Linked DNA regions of Homo sapiens: regions 1, 2, 3, 5, 6 and 7 are each linked to region 4. The links are contacts of gene promoters, found by promoter capture Hi-C in blood cells and fetal thymus (Javierre and others, 2016). All regions are on one chromosome and are shown on one strand. The core of a region is centred on a gene start or on the middle of the fragment in contact, and the rest is flanking DNA. Distances in the headings are between cores, read along the strand shown. Region 1 overlaps LOC105373454 (a long non-coding RNA gene). Region 2 overlaps LOC105373454 (a long non-coding RNA gene). Region 3 overlaps LOC105373454 (a long non-coding RNA gene). Region 4 holds the start of OSR1 (odd-skipped related transcription factor 1). Region 5 overlaps LOC105373454 (a long non-coding RNA gene). Region 6 overlaps LOC105373454 (a long non-coding RNA gene). Region 7 holds the start of PUM2 (pumilio RNA binding family member 2).

The links. The method cuts DNA at HindIII sites, captures the fragments that hold promoters and counts their contacts. A CHiCAGO score of 5 or more calls a contact.
Region 1: a fragment that was not itself captured here is called in contact with the fragment with the promoter of OSR1 in region 4 in 3 of 17 cell types (megakaryocytes, endothelial precursors and erythroblasts); the score reaches 13.9 in megakaryocytes.
Region 2: a fragment that was not itself captured here is called in contact with the fragment with the promoter of OSR1 in region 4 in 2 of 17 cell types (erythroblasts and megakaryocytes); the score reaches 10.3 in erythroblasts.
Region 3: a fragment that was not itself captured here is called in contact with the fragment with the promoter of OSR1 in region 4 in 1 of 17 cell types (erythroblasts); the score reaches 5.3 in erythroblasts.
Region 5: a contact is called between a fragment that was not itself captured here and the fragment with the promoter of OSR1 in region 4, in 2 of 17 cell types (megakaryocytes and erythroblasts). The highest score is 7.1, in megakaryocytes.
Region 6: a contact is called between a fragment that was not itself captured here and the fragment with the promoter of OSR1 in region 4, in 2 of 17 cell types (megakaryocytes and endothelial precursors). The highest score is 8.8, in megakaryocytes.
Region 7: a contact is called between the fragment with the promoter of PUM2 here and the fragment with the promoter of OSR1 in region 4, in 7 of 17 cell types (activated CD4 T cells, neutrophils, fetal thymus and 4 more). The highest score is 11.5, in activated CD4 T cells.

What each region holds. Positions count from the first base shown.
Region 1 is chr2:18,412,263-18,414,962 of GRCh38, forward strand. The region is part of intron 4 of LOC105373454 (a long non-coding RNA gene); the gene reads left to right. Among named protein-coding and RNA genes, the nearest start is that of RDH14, 150 kb to the right of the region's middle. The HindIII fragment of the contact is 651 bases long and covers 1,036-1,686 here.
Region 2 is chr2:18,430,233-18,432,932 of GRCh38, forward strand. All of the region lies in intron 4 of LOC105373454 (a long non-coding RNA gene), which reads left to right. Among named protein-coding and RNA genes, the nearest start is that of RDH14, 130 kb to the right of the region's middle. The HindIII fragment of the contact is 3,082 bases long and covers 1-2,700 here.
Region 3 is chr2:18,481,661-18,484,360 of GRCh38, forward strand. The region is part of intron 4 of LOC105373454 (a long non-coding RNA gene); the gene reads left to right. Among named protein-coding and RNA genes, the nearest start is that of RDH14, 78 kb to the right of the region's middle. The HindIII fragment of the contact is 5,167 bases long and covers 1-2,700 here.
Region 4 is chr2:19,357,218-19,359,917 of GRCh38, forward strand. It overlaps OSR1 (odd-skipped related transcription factor 1), which reads right to left and starts at 1,406. Exons shown (of 3, transcript NM_145260.3): 1 at 1,124-1,406. RefSeq lists enhancers at 1-84, 750-1,278. The HindIII fragment of the contact is 8,359 bases long and covers 1-2,700 here.
Region 5 is chr2:18,463,693-18,466,392 of GRCh38, forward strand. The region is part of intron 4 of LOC105373454 (a long non-coding RNA gene); the gene reads left to right. Among named protein-coding and RNA genes, the nearest start is that of RDH14, 96 kb to the right of the region's middle. The HindIII fragment of the contact is 153 bases long and covers 1,222-1,374 here.
Region 6 is chr2:18,393,223-18,395,922 of GRCh38, forward strand. The region is part of intron 2 of LOC105373454 (a long non-coding RNA gene); the gene reads left to right. Among named protein-coding and RNA genes, the nearest start is that of RDH14, 170 kb to the right of the region's middle. The HindIII fragment of the contact is 7,094 bases long and covers 1-2,700 here.
Region 7 is chr2:20,349,455-20,352,154 of GRCh38, forward strand. It overlaps PUM2 (pumilio RNA binding family member 2), which reads right to left and starts at 1,390. Exons shown (of 21, transcript NM_015317.5): 1 at 1,143-1,390. RefSeq lists a silencer at 773-1,662 and enhancers at 858-1,487, 1,488-2,119, 1,823-1,912, 2,120-2,700. The HindIII fragment of the contact is 4,637 bases long and covers 673-2,700 here.

The DNA.
Region 1 (2,700 bases), core at 111-2,610, 940 kb before region 4:
GGCTAAATAGAATAAGAACTTAGTGTATTGTTTATAAACATGCACATTAATGTAAAATATTGTCATTGTTGGAGGAATATTTATGGTAACTCAATTAGAGAAATTACCATTCGCTTATAATCTTTCTCTTTAAATTGAAATATTGGAGTGTAATTTAAACTTTGGAAACTTTAAATTCTAGCTGTTCTGTCATTACATACAGAACAGCTTTCCCCCAAAATATTTTCAATTGGAACATTTTTAAATTTCATCATATAGTAATATCTAGGCTTTTCCCTATGCCCATTTCATTCTCTCAGTGAAAGATTGTCTGCTTTAGGAGTAAAAATAGCTCTTTCAGGTCTCATTACTACTAATAACAATTTTTTAAAATAATGTTAAACACAATGCTACATCTCAATGTAATGTTACTTAGTGCAAGGGCAACGCCTTGCAAACCTCAGAAGAGCCTAGAAAATAGCAGAATCTAAAATTTTAAGTTATTAAGAAAATACTAGATTATAATGAATGAGATTATTCTAATGAAGGGACAAAATATATAAAGCAATTTTAGAAAGATTTATATTTGAAATAATGATTTTTTAAAAGTTTGAACCCTATAACACAACTCATTCCCTAATGGCTTTCTGATACCTGAGATTTTTCCAATTAGCTTAAAACATGACATTTTTAACTATCAGTATAAGTCAATATAGTTACTGTTTGTTACGTATTTGCTTTAAAATAAGTTCTTTATACATATTATCTCACTAAATATAATTTCTAGTTTCTTGTTTGGAAGTTGAAGCAGAGAGGTTAAAAAATTTCCCCAAAACACATAGTTGGTAAGTGATAGAAATGGAATTTGACATAGAAATATATGAAAATATGCATATTTTCACTATCCTACATTGCTTTTTCCTGATTCTAGGGTTAATATGAGTCATCATGGAACATAGTGAGTAATTTGGTACTATAAAGGAATTTGCTTGTTTTTTTTTAAAAAAAAGGTATTTACATTTCAAAGCAACCAAATTAGAATAGAAAGAATTTTTAAGCTTCTTTTTTAAAGGAGAATTTTCAGTTCATTATTTAAGAAACTTAATGTATGTTTTCATTTTAAGTCAAAAAATATTCCGATTTAAAGATGTATCGCCTTGTCTAATGTAGTTATGAGCCCTTCTCAAAACAGTCAGTCTGGAAGCCTGAAGAAATCGTAATGCAACTTCCAAAAGTCTCTAACCCTACTAGGGAGTAGCTTTGGCAGTAGGAGAATTTGGCTCTGCAGATTTCAGCCAAGACCCAGCCCAAGAAGTCAATTAGCTAGGAAAGATTAAACATCTGAAAATGTAAATTATTAGTTCAGTTGCAACTCTATGTGTTACATGTGTAGAAATGCAAAAACACATTTGTTCAAAGGATTTATCATTAACTGCCACATTGGACAGTACGAATACTTAGATATGCTTGCATAAACACATGAGTCACCTTTCATAAAATACAATTTTCCATGTAAGCAAACTATTGATGAATGTGGAGTCTAAGACATTTTCTCTTTGGCTGTTGTAAAATTTTCTATGAACGATAAGAAAGAACATCTTTGAATGCAGTAAGTTCAAGAGGATAGCTTGTCACTGAGGGGAAGGGAAGCCAAGGGATCCCAACATCTCTCACTCCCATGTTCTAATGCAAGCATGCTTGCCAGGAAGCTTTCACTGTCTGAGATGAGTCATGGGTCCTGTGAGTTTCCTCCAGTTTAGGAAAAGAGAGACACACAGCTTCCTCCTGATGTCTTCTGAAGTTGACACTGTTTAAATGTGGCTTATCATAGAATTTTGAGGTCTTTCTTTTTCTTTCTTTCTTTCTTTCTTTCTTTTTTTTCTAAGTTAGAACAGAGAAAGAAATGCAAAGGGGCATTGAGGGTATGTCCACTCTGTGGATCCTATTCCAGGTGACTCATGTTTCTGTATCTCTTTCAAAATAAGTGCTTAGCCATATTAGTGGAATTAAGAAAGATGAGAAAATTCTGTTGTTTTTCAAACTCTTTTTTTATTTTGAGGTCTAGTTCTGGAAATAATGACTGTCCAGCAAATACCACCCAAACACTGATATCAATTGCAGCTTTAACAAAAAGCAACTTCCAGTCCCACCCTAACTGCAGCCCCCTGAAAGTAATTATTTAATAGCTCTTCTTCTCCCCTCAAAATTTCCCTGCACTCTCTTTGTTGCCTCTCTAGTTAGGATATATTTGTGTTTGATCATACTAGGTGGTAATCATTTTTCAATTTGTCTGTCCCTCTCCTCTGAGCTATGAGACTCCTAAAGATGTAGGCTATTTTATAAATATTTTTAAAAGGCTAATCCTTAGTACTACTGGAACTGCCATAGAGACAGTACTTCACATTGGAGCAACATTAAAAATTTGAATTTATTAACAAGACATTTATTAATAAAGATAGGATAATTTATTATATTAGTTTGATTCTAGACTTCTAGTGTTAAATTCTAAATTTTGTTAGCATAGAAAATTTCTTATAAACATTATCTTTGGGTTAAGTGCTATTTACCTTTTAGAATACTATCATTTTTCTATTCTAATAAAATATGACGTTATAAATGCTATGGCAACATACAATAAGATTTTTTAAATAGAGAAAATACACATAATTCAACATCTTAATAGCATTTCTACCACTATTCTTATGGGGTATTTTCCTGCAA
Region 2 (2,700 bases), core at 80-2,579, 930 kb before region 4:
AACAATACCAAAACAAAAATATTTTAGCTACACTCTCTCAAGGGACTTAAAATCTATTGGGAGAGAAAGACAAAGACAAGTCAACAGAACGTTTGATTCAGGGTGGTGAGTGCTAACGAAGGCACACAGCATTGGTTTTAAGAATAGGGTGGCTGATGGCGTTTAACTCAGTGCAGTGTTCAAGGAGCTCCAGCCCAATCGGTGCCTTGGCATGATGTGTATTTAAAAAAATATTTAAGAACAAAAAGAAGAGGCTTCAATTTTTAAAAATATGTTCAGTAAAAGTACATTTGATGTGGCCAAATAAATCACTAATGACTGAAGTTGGTGAAGTAATGAAGCAACGAATTTTAGTCACTCTAAAATCAATCTCAGCAACACATCGCTAAGTATTCAAATTCTACCCATCCTGACAGGTCAAACTCAGGTTTACCTTCTAGAAACTCTTCCAGACGACCAGAACCAGTAAGAATCACACAATTCTGATTTCATAAGACTCCCAAAACTATGTTGGCGTTTCTAAGCCAGCTCCTGCCTGGGCCTCTTGTCTCAGTATAAGGCACCACTATTCAATTCCACAGCAAGTTCTGTAGGCCCGACTGCCAAACATATCTGGATTCTCTCCACATCACTAGTAGCACCTTGTCCAAAACAACATGATTTATTGCTTGAAGAATTGTGTTATCTCTTAACTAGTCCCCCTCCTTCTATCCCATTCCTTCCACCATCTATTTTCGGCAGAGCAGTAATTATGATCTCTTGCAAACATGAACAATGTTAATCATTTGCCTAAAACTCTCCAATGTCTTCCCATTGCACTTGAAATGAAATTGAGGCACCTTACCTTGACCTAAAAGGCTTTATATGACCATGTCCCTATAGACCTCTCTGAAAATTTCTTCCATCCTTCTCCTCCTTGCAATATAAGCCCCAACCACAATGGCTTTCTTTGTGTTTTCTGAACAAATAAGGTTATTGTTAGCCTTAGGGCTCTTGCATATGGTTTTCCTGCCTGTAAACACTCTCGTTTATCTTAACAGGTCTATCTTTGCAGTCTTAGCTCAAGCATCACTTTCTCAGTGAGAATTCCTCCAATCCTTTAGTCTAAATTACTCCATCCTCACTCATCCTCTATCATTCAAGCACAACCATGCCACTCTTCTCCATTTTCTTTATTGCTCTTAACAACTAAAATCATCTTCATTTATTGTTACTTGTTTATTATGTATCTCTTCCCCACACAGACACTAGAATATAAATGTCATGAGAACTGGGACCTTGTCCGTGTTTTCACCATTGTGTCCCAGTGTCTAGATCAATACGAAGCACACAATAGATGCTTAACAAATATTTATTCAATGACTGAATAACAAATGCAGTGTTGTCTCTCTCTCTCTCTCTTTGGAAACAGCATCTCACTCTCTGTCACCCAGTCTAGAGTGTAGTGGTGTGATCGTAGGTCACTACAGCTTTTTTGAACTCCTGGATTCAAGTGATCCTCCAGCCTCAGCCTCTTGAGTAGCTAGGACTACAGGCACATGCCATCATGCCTGGCTAATTTTCATATATATATATATATATATATATATATATGTATGTATAGGTATATGTGTATGTATGTATTTGTAGAGACAGGGTCTCAATTTCTTGCCCAACTTGGCCTCAAACTCCAGCTTCAAGCGGTCTTCCTGCCTTGGTCTCCTAAAGTGCTGGGATTACAGGTGTGAGCCACCATGCCCAGATGCAGTGTTGTCTCTTGTTCTCAATTGCTTAAATATATTAATTGTGGTCTTTTAACTCCATAAGCTCCATGAAAGAAGACATCATTTTATTGTTCTCCACACATGTAGTTGCCTTCAGCAAATACACATTTAGCTGTTTTGGAAAGGAGAATAAGGAATGGTGTTCTAGGATTTCTGCTGAATACCTTTTGGGTCCCTCTTGTGTTTTAGAGTCTCTGTCCTTGGTCAGCTTTCCTTCGTTGTTTATTTGAAGAGATTAAGGCCATTTCTTGTGAGTGGTTTCTATTTCTCCTTTGGTAAACTCATACTGGGCCATCTAAGAAATCTAGTATGAGCAGGTCTCCCCCTTCTTTTGGCTCTCTGGTCCTGTGACTCTATTTCCACTTCTAAGTGTCTTACATACCACAGGAAACTCTATCTCACAACAGCTTCCAGGCTCTTATCTGTAGAAATAAGAAACAAACAAGTAAAAAAAAAAAGTAGCAGCAATGACTAGCATCTGCAAGAGTATACTGTGCTTTACCAAAACTTCAACTTTGAACTTCTAGAAATACTTACCAACTTGCCTTAATAGCCATCATCATTGCATTTATGGCACTTTGGTCCTGTCTCCCTATGGCCAAAGGAAGTTCTCTCTGTATCTCTTTTACTGTCAGTGTATCCCTGAAACCAGCAAGATTTGTGAATGATGTGCCTCAGGAGATTGCATTAGGGTAGCCTGGGTCAGACAGACTCTGCTCTCTGTGTGAAGTAATCCTATCTGTGTGTGCTCTGGTTTTAAAGTTGACCCTCATTAATCATGGCCTTGGTTCCCTTAGACATTCCAGAGCTGATCTATTCTCATTTTCCCGTGAGCAACAATCTATATAGACCCCCAAATACGTTATTTATTCCTGAAATGGCTTGGTCTGGCATCACCCAGCCCTTCTATAACCTCCTGTGTATGAAAGAGAAATGA
Region 3 (2,700 bases), core at 133-2,632, 880 kb before region 4:
CTTTTAAGCACTGTGTTAGTCTGCCTCCTCCAAAGAAGCCACAGTCTAGTGGCTTTACACTTAAGTCAAAGAGAATTTTTTGCATGCTTTTTTTCTCCAATATGAACAAGGGATAAGACCCCTTAGACAAGCATCTGGCAATCTGACTAAAGAAACAAGCAGCATATCTCTATGGGGACCACAGGCAAAGGCTATAGAAGTTCATAAGAGGAGAGAGCTGGGAGAAAGCTGGGTGTCAGGAAAGGGGGCCTGGTGGAGTGAGAAACATAACTGGGCTCTTAAGAACAGATAGGGGTTAGAGCACCAGAAAGACTGAGTTGATATTTTAGGTGATGGGAGGAGCTTACCTTACCACATGGTCAATGATATTGTCAATTCCAGCACTGAAAGAAGGGATTCCTTTTCTAGCACTAACTGTACTGGCTTTCCTTGGGTCCTGGTGATTAGATAGATTGTCACCTTGAGGAGAAGAAGAGGACAGGATGTCTCATACATTTATAAGTCTGCCACTGATTTTCTGCCCTTATCCACACCTTCCAAAGACAGATGACCCTCTTTGCCAAACTTAGAGCCCAGCACTGGTTTGGAGATCAGAATAGGGCTAGAAATTATGAAAATGGAGACAGGAAACAAGAAGATCCTCATTGCCCTCAGATCCACAGGAGAGTCCTGGGGCTTAATGCTGCTGGTGCACGGTAAGCACCAGGAGGCAGGGAGCACATCTACCTTGCTCATCAAAGTGTTCCCAAGGTGGCATGTGGCCATGTTCAGTAAGTACTTGTTAAATGAGGAAATGAATAAATGAATTGCCAAATAACCAAACAAATGAGTTTGCATAGAGTGCACTTAAAAACTAACAACAGGTTTCTGGAGTATTTAGGGTGGAAATGGGATGCCCCCATCCTAAAAGGCAGTCTGAGGTGAGAAAGAGTCCTGTGTCCAGAGATAGGGCTTTTTCCTGGCTAGAAAACTCCATGCTTCCTTCTAGAGGAATTGAGTAAATTGTGTTGGGACATATACAAGATCAACCATTATAAAATTTACTACACTTAATTCTAAAACTTTCTTTTCCAGGCACTAGGATCTCAGGGGCAAATCTCTTTTGTGGTAAGCTGACCTCTAGAATTGTCACAATCATATAGCTACAGACACTTATATTTGAAGCATTCTTACACTTTATGAAGATCAACTAGATATAATGTCATCTTTGCCAGCAGGTGGCTACACTTGAATGACTCAATACACAAAACTTCATTACCCTTTGTAATAAATTGCTGTCTCCTCATAAAGTACTTACTGTATGGAAAGATTTCAGAAAAAGGAAACAAGTGATCTCCTGCTAAGAAGTATTAAAGCAAACTTTAGCCCCCTGAAAATAACTATGTAAAGTGCATTTGGATCCTGGATAGGAAACTAGTTTACCCCATGTAAATACAGAAGAATAGCCGCTAGGGTGTTGATGGTGGTGCTTGCTAAAGTGATAGAATAGTAATGATTCCATTTGTTTATTTTGACAGCTTCACTGACTGGGAAACCTGCTATTCTCCACACACCTCCATATTCCCATGATGAAGTTATGTCTCTGTCTTTTTTTTTACTGTACCTGGAATAATGTTGCCCATGCTATTCCTCCAGGCAGACAAAACCTTCCTTGCCCTTTGTACCATCCCATCCAAGGCCCATGAAGCCTTTCTAGATGCTCCCTGTCTGGATTAATCAGCCACCTGCATTGTTCCTGTGGTTCTTTATCAAGCCACTTTCTGCCTCTATTTCACTCTCCCTAAGGTTACACTAGGTTGTTTGCAGAACTGTGACATGGCAGAGAGCAAATGTGTTTGAATCAGGACTCCCAGATTTAAAGTCCAACCTGTACTCTCTCCTAACTGTTGAATTTTAGGGAAGTTACAGAGTCCTTATGGTCTCCATGTATTTCAGACACTTGTAATAATACCAATTCAGATGAGTTTATGGAGCTGCTGTAAGAAAATATATATGAAAAATGCTTTCAGACAGTAATGCTGACATGTGTGCATGTATGAGAGACAGTCGCTGCAAAATGTGCAACAAGAGCTGAAGTTTTATTCACACACTTATTGGATGACCTTGAACAAGCCTTCCCCTCTCTGGGCCTTGGTTTCTGAACCTAGACCAAGGGTTCCTAGCCTGGGATCCTCAGAGGGGCTTTAGGAGAGTCACGAAACCCCTGAGATTGCATCCACCGTTGTGCCTTCTGGTGCCTTTTTCTAGGTTCAGCAGTCACCGCTTTCATCAAATTCTCAAAGAGAACTGAGACTCAAGGGACGTTAGGAAACTTGAGCCAGATGCTCATGAGGTCCCCCACCCCATCCAGGTCTGACAGTTTATGTCCCTGGAAACTTTAGTCCAACATGTTCTTGTAAAAGGCACAGAAACACATTTTGCAAGACCAGAAAGGGACTATCACAGATGAGGAAACTGAATCCTGGAAGAGTGAGGTCAGGTGCCAGATGTTAGGAGTTGGCAGAGACTCTGCAAACCTAACAGAGCTCCAGTGAGAGGGGTAATCACAGAGTCACGGGTCATTTTCTCCTTAGATTTTAAAATCAGGGTGGAGTGGTCAATAGAAAACCCAGAAAAAAAAGTCTTGTTTTGTAAATAGAAATCATTTAATTAAAAAAAAAACTGGATTTGGATTATAATTTTGTAACGTCCTGCCTACAG
Region 4 (2,700 bases), core at 156-2,655:
CACGCCGCCGGTCGCTGCTAGTCCCCTCCAGCGCTTCTCTTCCCTAGGGGGTTGTGAACCTGGGACACCTAGCCTTGCACGTGGTTTTGTTCCGCAGAGCCAATGCGCAGCTCTTAGCCTGGGTGAAATTTACCAAATTGTGGCAACAAAGAAACCCTTGCGGCTACTTTACACATTGAGAACCCAACCCGCTACTGCCTGAGCTGCTGAAAAAGGACTAAACGTGGTTTTTCATTCTTCTCCGAGACATTTCCGAGGAGAAATTAGTTCAGCAGGCAGCCCTTCACCCCTTTCCCCCTTCTTTCTCTCCTGACGGCTGGATTAGCGGACAGTCAGGGGAGTAACAGAACTTTTCCTGTCCCCAGCCCGGAGACCCTAGGGCTCCACAGAGTTTCCACTAGTGCTGTGTGTGGGTCTCGAATTGGAAAGCAGTGCTTGCGCCCACTGCATTGCCTCCCTGCACCAGGACAATCAAGGGTTCCGCTCCAGGCCTTGACGACACAGAGCAATCATCCTATGGAGAATATCCCTAAGTTAGAGCGCGAGTGCAAGGCGGGGTTCAGACTCGCAGCCCTGCGCTCTCGGGTCTAGGCGGCCTCATACTAGAGCGCAACTCCTCAAAAGACAAACTTGAACGAAAGCGCTACCGAGCTGGGGCATGCACCTGTCCCTGGCGCGGTCGGCTGCGGCTGTGGCCATTCACTCCCTCTCCCTTCCTTCTTCGTCAACCTGGGCGTCAGCCAGAGCTAGGAGCGCGTCTCAGGAAAGTTTGTGCCCGCTGAAGTTGCTCTGGTTTCTTAAAGGGGGCCCACAGATTGACTTTCAAAGTCCGTGGGCACCTCGCCCGTGATTCCGCAGAGCCGGGCGGGCTGGCCGCAGTAGCGGAGGCCCGCCCCCCTTAATCCCCAGCGGTCAGAGGCCGAGGACCCCGCGCAGGAAGTCCTGAGGCAGCACCCCCAACCACCCTGCTCTCACTTTCACAAAAGTCCTACAGCATTCGTTTGGCAAGAGCTTCCTTCAGGGGCATTGAGAGAGAGGAGGCACCCGCCGAGCAGTGACAAGGAACCTGGGAGTCCTGCCCGCATTCGCTTTGCTGAGCCCAGGCGCCCAGGACTGCAATTACCTTGTTCCGCAGAGGTCCTGGGGCTGAGCACGTCTCTGGGGCTTTAGCTGAAGGGGACTGGGGAAGCCGGAGGCCCTGGAGCCCACAGGCGCCCCTGGAGCTCTAGTGTCCCGACTCCTCTCCTGCCGCGGGGACTCCAAGCGCCGGACACGCGGGAGCGAGCGCTCAGCAGCCCCGGATCCTGCACGCCGGGGACGGTGAGCCTCGCTCGCGGCTCCCTCGCTGGGTCTGAACCAGGAGCAGCTGAGAACGTGCCGGGGAGAGGCCGAGCTCCGACTCACTCATCCCTTAGCACCGAGCCGCCTACTTATTTTAATCCACCACCCTCCCTCCTCCACCACCCCCACCCCCGCCCCTTGCCTCAGGATTCCTCCCCTCCCTCCCCTGCCCCCCAACCCTGCCCTGCGCCTGCGCAATGAAAGACAAAGTTTTTGCTGACCCGGGCAGCAGACTTTGGCAGCTGCTCTCGCTTGGACCCGGCCTCTCCCAACCTGCGTCCCCTCCTCTTCAGTCCCGCGCGACCCCTGCTGCCTTTTTAGGTCCAGAGCGGCACGCCTGGCGCACTGGAGGAAACGGTCCCTAGCAGATGAGAGCGGGCTGGCACCGCACGTTTCGAGGTCCTATACTTGGGCTCCTAGGACACAGCCCGTGCTCTTTGGGAGGAGGGAGGGAGGGGCAGTAGCTCTGTGCACCGGGATCCCCACACCGCGGCTTGGGTTTCAACGCACTTTGGCGCCTGACAGAGTCGCATCTCCTCCCAGAATCTCTTTCCAGAGGCGGCAGACCCCGAGTGTGGAGCAGCTCCTGGCTATCCAAGCGTGCTCGGGGCCAGGGTGTTAACCCAGGCAGCGCTGGTTAATTCCTGGTGCGGGAGGGCCAGGGTCACCGAAGCAAGCGAGCTGTAACATCTGAGTGCTTATGGTTGACCCCAGACCCTAAGTTCTGGAGTCCAGTAGAAAGAACAAAGAGTAGGGAAAGGAGGTCAGGAAAGTTATTTTCCTGGGGCCCAGAACTCTCTGAGATTTCACCCCAATGCACAGTGGCACTCTCTACTTACATATTTGTTTTAGGATGGATCAGAGTTTAGAGAGCCGCACTGGCAAGCTAGACGAGCTGCAAAGTTGTCAGTTCCAGGGCCTCTGAGTCAAGGAGCTGGTTCAGGTGGAGTTTTTAATCGGAAAGGAATCAGAGTTCTGGACATTAAAAATTCTATCTTCATTGCCTAGGCATTATGGAGGGTACCATCACCCCCTTGACTACCCATCTCTGAAAGCTGACCTCCGGCTGACCCCAGCCCAATCCCTCCCTAATGCCTTTCTGGAATACCCTTCCAGGCCTTGGGTTTGGCAAGGAGGAGTCACTGGTTTCCTGGGACTTGTGTGGGTCCAGATCACACAACTGCACTCTCTGCCTTTGCCCCAGAGTTGCTGCTGAGTGACTCTTGGAGCTGGATCCTAGATTCCGTGGGTCCCTAAGTACTGTACTGCTTCTCTCCCGAGGAGCTTCTGCTATCTCCAGCTTTGGTTTGCAAAGCTAATCTGATTTTCTTGGGAGGTGAAGAAGGTTGTAATACCTGA
Region 5 (2,700 bases), core at 48-2,547, 890 kb before region 4:
TCAGGGACCCACTTGAGGAGGCAGTCTGTCCCTTAGCAGAGTTTGAGCGCTGTGCTGGGAGATCCGCTGCACTCTTCACAGCTGGCAGGCAGAAATGTTTAAGTCTGCTGAAGCTGTACCCTGTTCCCCCAGGTGCTCTGTCCCAGGGAGATGGGAGTTTTATCTATAAGCCCCTGACTGGGGCTGCTGCCTTTGTTTCAGAGATGCCCTGCCCAAAGAGGAGGAATCTAGAGAGGCAGTCTGGCTACAGCGGCTTTCCCAAGCTGTGGTCCAGTTTCGTGCTTGAAACCCAGGGCCCTGGTGGTGTAGGTACCAGAGGGAATCTCCTTTCCTGTGGGTTGTGAAGACCATGGGAAAAGCACAGTATCTGGGCCGGAATGCACTGTTCCTCACGGCGTTGTCCCTCATGGCTTCCCTTGACTAGGGGAGGAAGTTTCCCGACCCTTTGCGCTTCCCAGGTGAGGTGATGCCCCACCCTGCTTCTGCTTGCCCTCTGTGGGCTGCACCCACTGTCTAACCAGTCCCAGTGAGATGAGCCAGTTACCTCAGTTAGGAATGCAGAAATCACCTGCTTTCAGCATTGATCTCGCTGGGAGCTCCAGACTGGAGCTGTTCCTATTTGGCCACCTTGCCAGCCAGCCTTGCATATTGTTTATAAATTTAAGGACAATAATGAAATCCATGCCCAGATAAAAAGGGCATTTTAACCTATGAGGCAGAGCTGTGAAATGCTTCCAATTATTTGGCCTTCAAAAATGTTCCGGGCCAAGTGCAATGGCTCACACACCTGTAATACCAGAGCTTTGGGAGGTCAAGGCTGGAGGATTTCTTGAGGCCAGGAGCTCAAGACTGGCCTGGGAAACATTGTGAGACCCGATCTCTACAAAAATGTGTTAAAAATTAGCCTGTTGTGGTGGCACACACCTGCAATCCCAACTACTCAGAAAGCTGAGGCAGAAGGATGGCTTTAGCCCAGGAGTTCCAGGCTGCTGTGAGCTATGATCATACCACTACTGCACTCCAGCATGGGGAAACAGAGTGAAAGCCTGTCTCTAACAAAACAAAACAAAGAATTTTCAGATGTGCGATTGTCTAGTCAAGGAGGCTGCACTTCTACATTTACATAAAAGAGAGGAAAAATTTTAGATAAATAAATGTCATCCTTAATGTGTGAACAAAAGGACATTAATCACAAGTAAATGTAAAATATTTGCTCCAGAAAGCTTGAAGATCAATTGAGTCCATGGGAGTAAATTACTCAATGATCTCTTGAAGATACAAGAATAGAAAGAGAAGATTATTTAATTACAAAGAAGGTCTCTGTGGAGAACATGCCATTCACAATCCATCAATATGAATTCAGAACATCGGCCAAGCTTTCTGTTCTAACCTCATGACACAAGCTTTCTGTTCTAACCTCATGACACCGAAGCCTGGATATCTCCCAGACATTCTAGGAAAGATTACTTAGGGGTGTTCATTGTTCTCTAGAGTCCTTAGCTGGTCTGAGGTCATAATATAGACACTAATTTTTGTTCTGTTAAATCAGCAATCTACCTTCCATGTATTTGCTTAAAGTATCTTTTACCAAGACCACTATATTTCCTTTAATAATTCAATAATAACACAGTCATACTACTGAAAACTGTGATGTGAATTAGATCACATTATACAAAACCCTCTTGCTATACTAAGGGGGTGGTCTGTTAGGAAAGAGTGCCGTATACTGCTAGGAGTCAGTGTGCAAGGTCTTCTTCCTATAAGAACAATGTTCCTATAGGGAATATCCAAACATTTTCTAAGGTATTCTCTAAGTAACTTACTGCTTTCAAGGGAGAAGCATGGTCATACCACTTGGAAACTGCCATTGTCCTAAATGGCTTGAAAGCTAAATACGACTTTTTCTCTAAGCGCTTCTATGATTATTGTCTTTAGTAATATAAAAAGAAAAATTGCTGGATAAAGTAAAAATAAACAAATACATAAGTGTATTAGTCCATTTTCACGTTGCTGATAAAGACATACCAGAGACTGGGTAATTTGTAAAGAAAGAGAGGTTTAATGGACTCATAGTTTCACATGGCTCATCAGGCCTTACAATCATGGCAGGAGGCAAGAGGCACATCTTACATCACAGTAGACAAGACAGAATGAGAGTCAAGTGAAAGGGGTTTCCCCTTATAAAACCATCAGATCTCGTGAGACTTATTCACTACCATGAGAATAGTATTGGGGAAATTGTCCCCATGGTTCAATTATCTCCCACTGGGTCCCTCCCACAACAGGTGGGAATTATGAGAGCTACAACTCAAGATGAGATTTGGGTGGGGACCAGCTGAACCATATCAATAACTATAAAATTATTTATAATTTAATAAAAAAGTTATTAAAACAGATTTTAATAACTTAGTTAAAGCCTCTGGATCCAGCGGTGCCTTCAGCCCCATCTCCGAATTTTCCATTTATGGGGTGAGTTAGAGTTTTGGCATTTGCTGAAAGAAGGATCATGACTCACATACCCTTCTTTACTTTCTAATAGCATGGCTGATATTCAAGATTTAAACAAGACTTTGCTAAGCATACGGAATAACAGTAGAAAAATTAAAAAGAGGCAACATCCAATTTGCCTGGTTTATATGTTATAATTCCCTCATATTTATTGTACAAGCAACTACATCTTCTTGGCCAGGATCCATATGA
Region 6 (2,700 bases), core at 76-2,575, 960 kb before region 4:
TGCTGGGATTACAGGCGTGAGCCACCGCGCCCGGCCGTGAAAGATCTTTACAATGAGAATTATAAACCACTGCTCAAAGAAATCAGAGATGATACAAACACAAATGGAAAAACATTCCATGCTTATAGATGGGACGAATCAATATCGTTAAAATGGCCATACTGCCCAAAGCAACTTATAGATTCGATGCTATTCCTATCAAACTACCAGTGATATTCTTCACAGAATTAGAAAAAAGCTACTTCAAAATTCATATGAAACAAAAAAGAGCCCAAATAACCCAGGCAATCCTAAGCAAAAATAACAAAGCAGGAGGCATTATGCTACCCAATTTCAAACTATACTACAGGGCTACAGTAACCAAAGCAGCATGGTACTGGTACAAAAACAAACACATAAACCAATGGAACAGAATAGAGATCCCAAAAATAAAGCCACACAACTACACCAATCTGATCTTATATGAAACTGACAAAAACAAGCAATGGGGAAAGGACTCCCTATTGAATAAATGGTGCTGGGTTAACTGGCTAGCCATGTGCAGAAGATTGAAACTGGACCTCTTCCTTACACCATATACAACATCAACTCAAGAAGGATTAAAGACTTAAACGTAAAACCAAAAGCTACAAAAACCCTGGAAGACTAGGCAATATCATTCTAGACATAGGACCTAGCAAAGATTTCATGGCAAAGATGCCAAAAGCAATTGCAACAAAAGCAAAAATTGACAAATGGAGATCTAATTAAACTAAAGAGTTTCTGCACAGCAAAAGAAGCTAACAAAAGAGTAAACAGAAAACCTACAGAATGGGAGAAAATTTTCACAAACTATGCATCTGACAAAGGTCTAGTATCCAGTATCTATAAGGAAATTAAACAAATTTACAAGGGAAATAACAACCCCATCAAAAAGTGGGCAAAGGACATGAACAGACACTTCTCAAAAGAAGACATATATGTGGCCAAAAATCATATGAATAAAAGCTCAACATCACTGATGGTTAGAGAAATACAAATCAAAACCACAATGAGATATCATCTCACATCAGTCAGAATGATTATTATGAAAAAGTCAAAAAATAACAAGCTGGAGAGGCTGTGAAGAAAACAGAACACTTACACAATGTTGGTGGAATTGCAAATTAGTTCAACCATTCTGGAAAGCAGTGTTTTGATTCCTTAAAGAGCTAAAAACAGAACTACCATTCAACTCAGCATTCTTATTACTGGGTATATACCCAGATAATATAAAACATTCTACTATAAAGATGCATGCATGCATATGTTCATTGCAGCACTATTCACAATAGCAAAGATATGGGATCAACCTAAATGCCCATCAATGACAGATTGGATAAAGCAAGCATGGTTCATGTACACTATGGAATACGATGCAGTCATAAAAAAGAATGAAATCATGTCTTTGCAGAAACGTGGATGGAACTAGAGGCCGTTATTCTTAGCAAACTAATGCAGGAACAGAAAACCAAATACGGCATGTTGTCATAAGTGGGAGCTAAATGATGAGGACACATGGACACATAGAGGGGAACAACAGACACTGGTGCCTACCAGAAGATGAAGGGTGGGAGGAGAGAAAGGAGAAGAAAAAAAATAACTATTAGATACTAGGCTTAGTGTTTGGGTGACAAAATAATCTGTACATCAAACCTCCATTACACAAGTTTACCTATATAACAAAACCTGCACATGTACCCCTCCCTGAACTAAAAGTTAAAAAAAAATTTTTCTTAATAATGCTCCACCTTGTAGAAGAGTTAAGTAATTCTTATTGTGCCTCTTGGGACATCTTATCCCCAAACTCCAACAGGTCCTTTTATTTGGTGACAGGGGGAAGACTCTTTATAATTCAGAAAAAAATTAAAATGCACAAATTTCATATACTAGGATAATAACTATGGAAAATAACATGCAGACAAGTGCTTGGGAAAAAAATTTTGAAGTAAAAGTGTTAGGATAGGGCAGTGATTTTCAACGTGTAAGCAGCAGCATCCTCATTGCCTTGAGACTCTTTAGAAATACAAATTATCAGGCCCCATCTCAGAAATACTGAGTCCAAAACTGGAGTGGCGGGTGCACACCAGTGCTTTAACAAGTCCCCAGGTGATTCAGATTCACCCTGGAGTTTGAAAGCCGCTGTTGTGAAGAAATGCTGAAAATTCTTTAACTTTTTTAAATTATATACTTATAAGTAGAGTTTTTTAAACAATGCTTGCAGAGTTACAGACATAAAAAAAGACGCCTCTATTATTTAAGGAAGATCTATACAGGCAAAATAGAATTGGTGGCAAAGCCAGTAATCTGAGATGTTTTTGGTTTAGAAAGTTGCTCTTTGTGCATCAGAAATGCCTGACTCAGGGAGTTATTGATCAGCATTGAACTAGGAGTTCAGACACAGGTGTTCCTATATCACGTTCTTGGGGCTGGTAAAACATAGTCTCATCTTAGGCTGATCAAGGCTTAAACTATGAAACCTGGTCCTCTGCCAGCTTGCTGATGGAATTAGAGAGAACCACTGAAAGAATCAATCAGCTAATGAGATTTTATACAACAACTTCCATGTGCTGGGCACCCGGCCTGGTGCGGTTGGCCGGGAGGGGATGGATAGGATACGGTTCCTCTGACCCAGAAGTCACAGACAATTTAAGACTTTCATCTTTGAAAAAAAGCACTCTG
Region 7 (2,700 bases), core at 140-2,639, 990 kb after region 4:
ATGAAGTAAATCATTGTTTAAAAGGAGGCTAGGAAGAGAAACAAGTTGAAAATACTCATTTTTGTTTTTTTTTTTTTATTTACAGGATTCCTTAAGTCATCTTCCAATACTCCAGGTCACATGGTGAAGAGTCACCTGTTAAACACGAAATCTAACCATTAAACAAGCTTTTAAAATCCTTCGGTAACTCCCTTTATTAAAATTGTTTTCTTGACATACAGTACCTTTACAGGTATTACATTTCTCTTCACCGTTTACAAGCATTTTTCTCATGTTTTCCTTCACCAAAACATCTGCCCCGTTTTCTCAACAAGTAAAAATCTCAAAGTACTAAGTCCTAACATGATGTCTTATTGCACCTAATATGCTGGCAATACATTCCTCTCTTCAAAAGTTTACGTATGTTAGAATAAAAAGCTAAGTTAAGTAGGTTTTCTCTGGCTGTGTTTTCAGAAACAACACTAACTTTTACACGTGTTTGGGCATGAAACTTTAAACATTTTCCCCAAAACCTGACCCAATTCAGATACAAAACTACTGCTCAAATAGTAGAAGCCGCTAATCTTGTCTTTGGTTTTAATTTACATATTTTTCTGAATATCGAAATCCGTTCCTATAACCTAAACAAGGCGAATCCAAGTCACTGCTTCATACCCACATCTGTCCACGGCAAGCTTTTCCCGGACACACTCGGGCCTTTGAAAATGCCCACACTTGTTTTCATAAACCCACTCCTTCCTCTTCACCCACTTGCAATCCGCATGCTTCTCTGGGGCCACCCGGCCTCTCCCCTCTTTCCGAACCCTAGGGCCGACAGCTCGGTCTCTAACCTCCAGCGCGCCGAATCGGAGGGAGAACCGGGTCGGCGCCCCACGCCCCCGAGGCGGCGGCCCCGCAGAGGGAAGGAAGCGGGAAAGCGGCCGGCGCGGCGCCCCCTCCCCCGCACGCGCACACCCCCTTCCGGCACCCCTCCCCCTGCATTGTGCGAGCGGGCCCCAGGCCGCACCGGCCCGGGCACTCAGCAGGCCCTATCCGCCCTCCCGCTGGCGATCGGCTCCCGCCGAGGCCGCCGCACAAAGCCTGGGGAGCCATCCTCGACGGCGCCAAAGGACCGGAGAAAGAGCGAACGCGGACTGACTTACAGGGCTGCTGCGGCCGCGCTGCCTCAGCCGGGGACACCGACCGTTGGGCACACGGCGGCGTCGCTCTTGGCGGTCCTCCCCCTCCTCCGCCTTCGGTGGCGGCAATGTCTTCTTTCTCCACCTACCACCCTCCCCCCCCACCCCACCTCCTCCTTCTCCTCCCCCTCCTCCTCCGAACCACCGAAGTACCGAGGGTGAGACACAGAGACTCACAACAACATGGCTGCCACCGCCGCCTGCCCTCCCCTCCCCCCCGCCCACCGGGCGCGCGCAGTGCACCCCGGGAGAAAGGGGAGGGGGAGCGCTCACCAAGGCGCGGCTCCTTTTAATGCCTTGCGTCCCTGCTCCCGCGCTGCCGCCGCGCGGGCCGGGGGCGCCCTGCGCGTGCGCACGTTCTCCGCGCTCTCACGTGTTTGGCCGCCTCTCCGGCGTGCCCTCCCCCGCCCTCACCTTGCGGGCTCGCGCTTCCCTCCTGGGCTCCGCCGCGGCGGGCTCGGAGAGCGCAGGCGTACTGTTGCCAAACGCTGTGTTCGACTGTCTTCCCGCGTGGGGCCTCGCCTTCTGAATCTTCTTACCCTCGGCTTCCTACCCGGTTGCTCACTGTTTTCCCCCAACTGGGTGTGCGGGTGTCTGCGCCCGCGCCGCCCACCGTGGGGTACTCCTGGCATTTCGCTTCCAGAGTGCTGGCGCCCACAAGAGCCGGACGTTAATTCAGGCCTTTAACTTTCACTCTGTACCTCCCCACAACCAGACGAGGGAGATGCATCTGGGGGTGGAAGATTGTACCCTGCGAGAGGGCTGTCACTCTTCTCGTGGTTGCACCCCAGGCAGGTGGAGCCAGCTCTCAGCAAATTGTCGGCCCCCAGTGCTTGGTCCCGGTGCACACAAAGGAAACTCAGGTCGTTCTCCAGCTGGGCCAGTGATTCTCACTCGTTGGCTGTTTCTTTTTCTCGCGTACTAAGCGCTCTCTCCTTCCCCGTTTACAGGCTAGTTGGAAACTCCAAATCTGCCTTGCTGTCCTGGACCCCCATGCAAAGCAGTGGTGATTCCAGGATTCTAACCTAACCGGCTCCAGGTCACACAGCTGTAACAGGCACCGTGTCCGATTTGTTCTTGATGGTTTGTTTGCACAGCTCCTGGCTCTCCTGACATGCTGCACTTCGTAAATATTCAGGGCCTCCCGTATAGTTTGCTTAATATATGTCTTCCCTAGGCGACTGTGAGCTCCACGAGGGCAAGGACCTTGTGTTTTGTTTCACACTGTGCCCGCAAGTGCCTGTTGAATACACATGGGCTCTTCGGTTTTTAACTATTACTGAAAAATGTCTGACATTGAAATCCATCCCAAGCCCCTACCTTAGGCTCATATTTCAGGCTTCTAGATATTTTCACTTGAATTTTCTTGTCACCAAGCATGTTAAAAACTGAAGTCACACCCATCCCCTACCCCCCACTCTTGTACTGTCTCTGTAATTGGCAGTGTCACCACCTATTCATTCCCCAAATTACACCTCTGAGAACCATCCTTGTCTCTTCCTCTTACCCCGACTCCAAATAT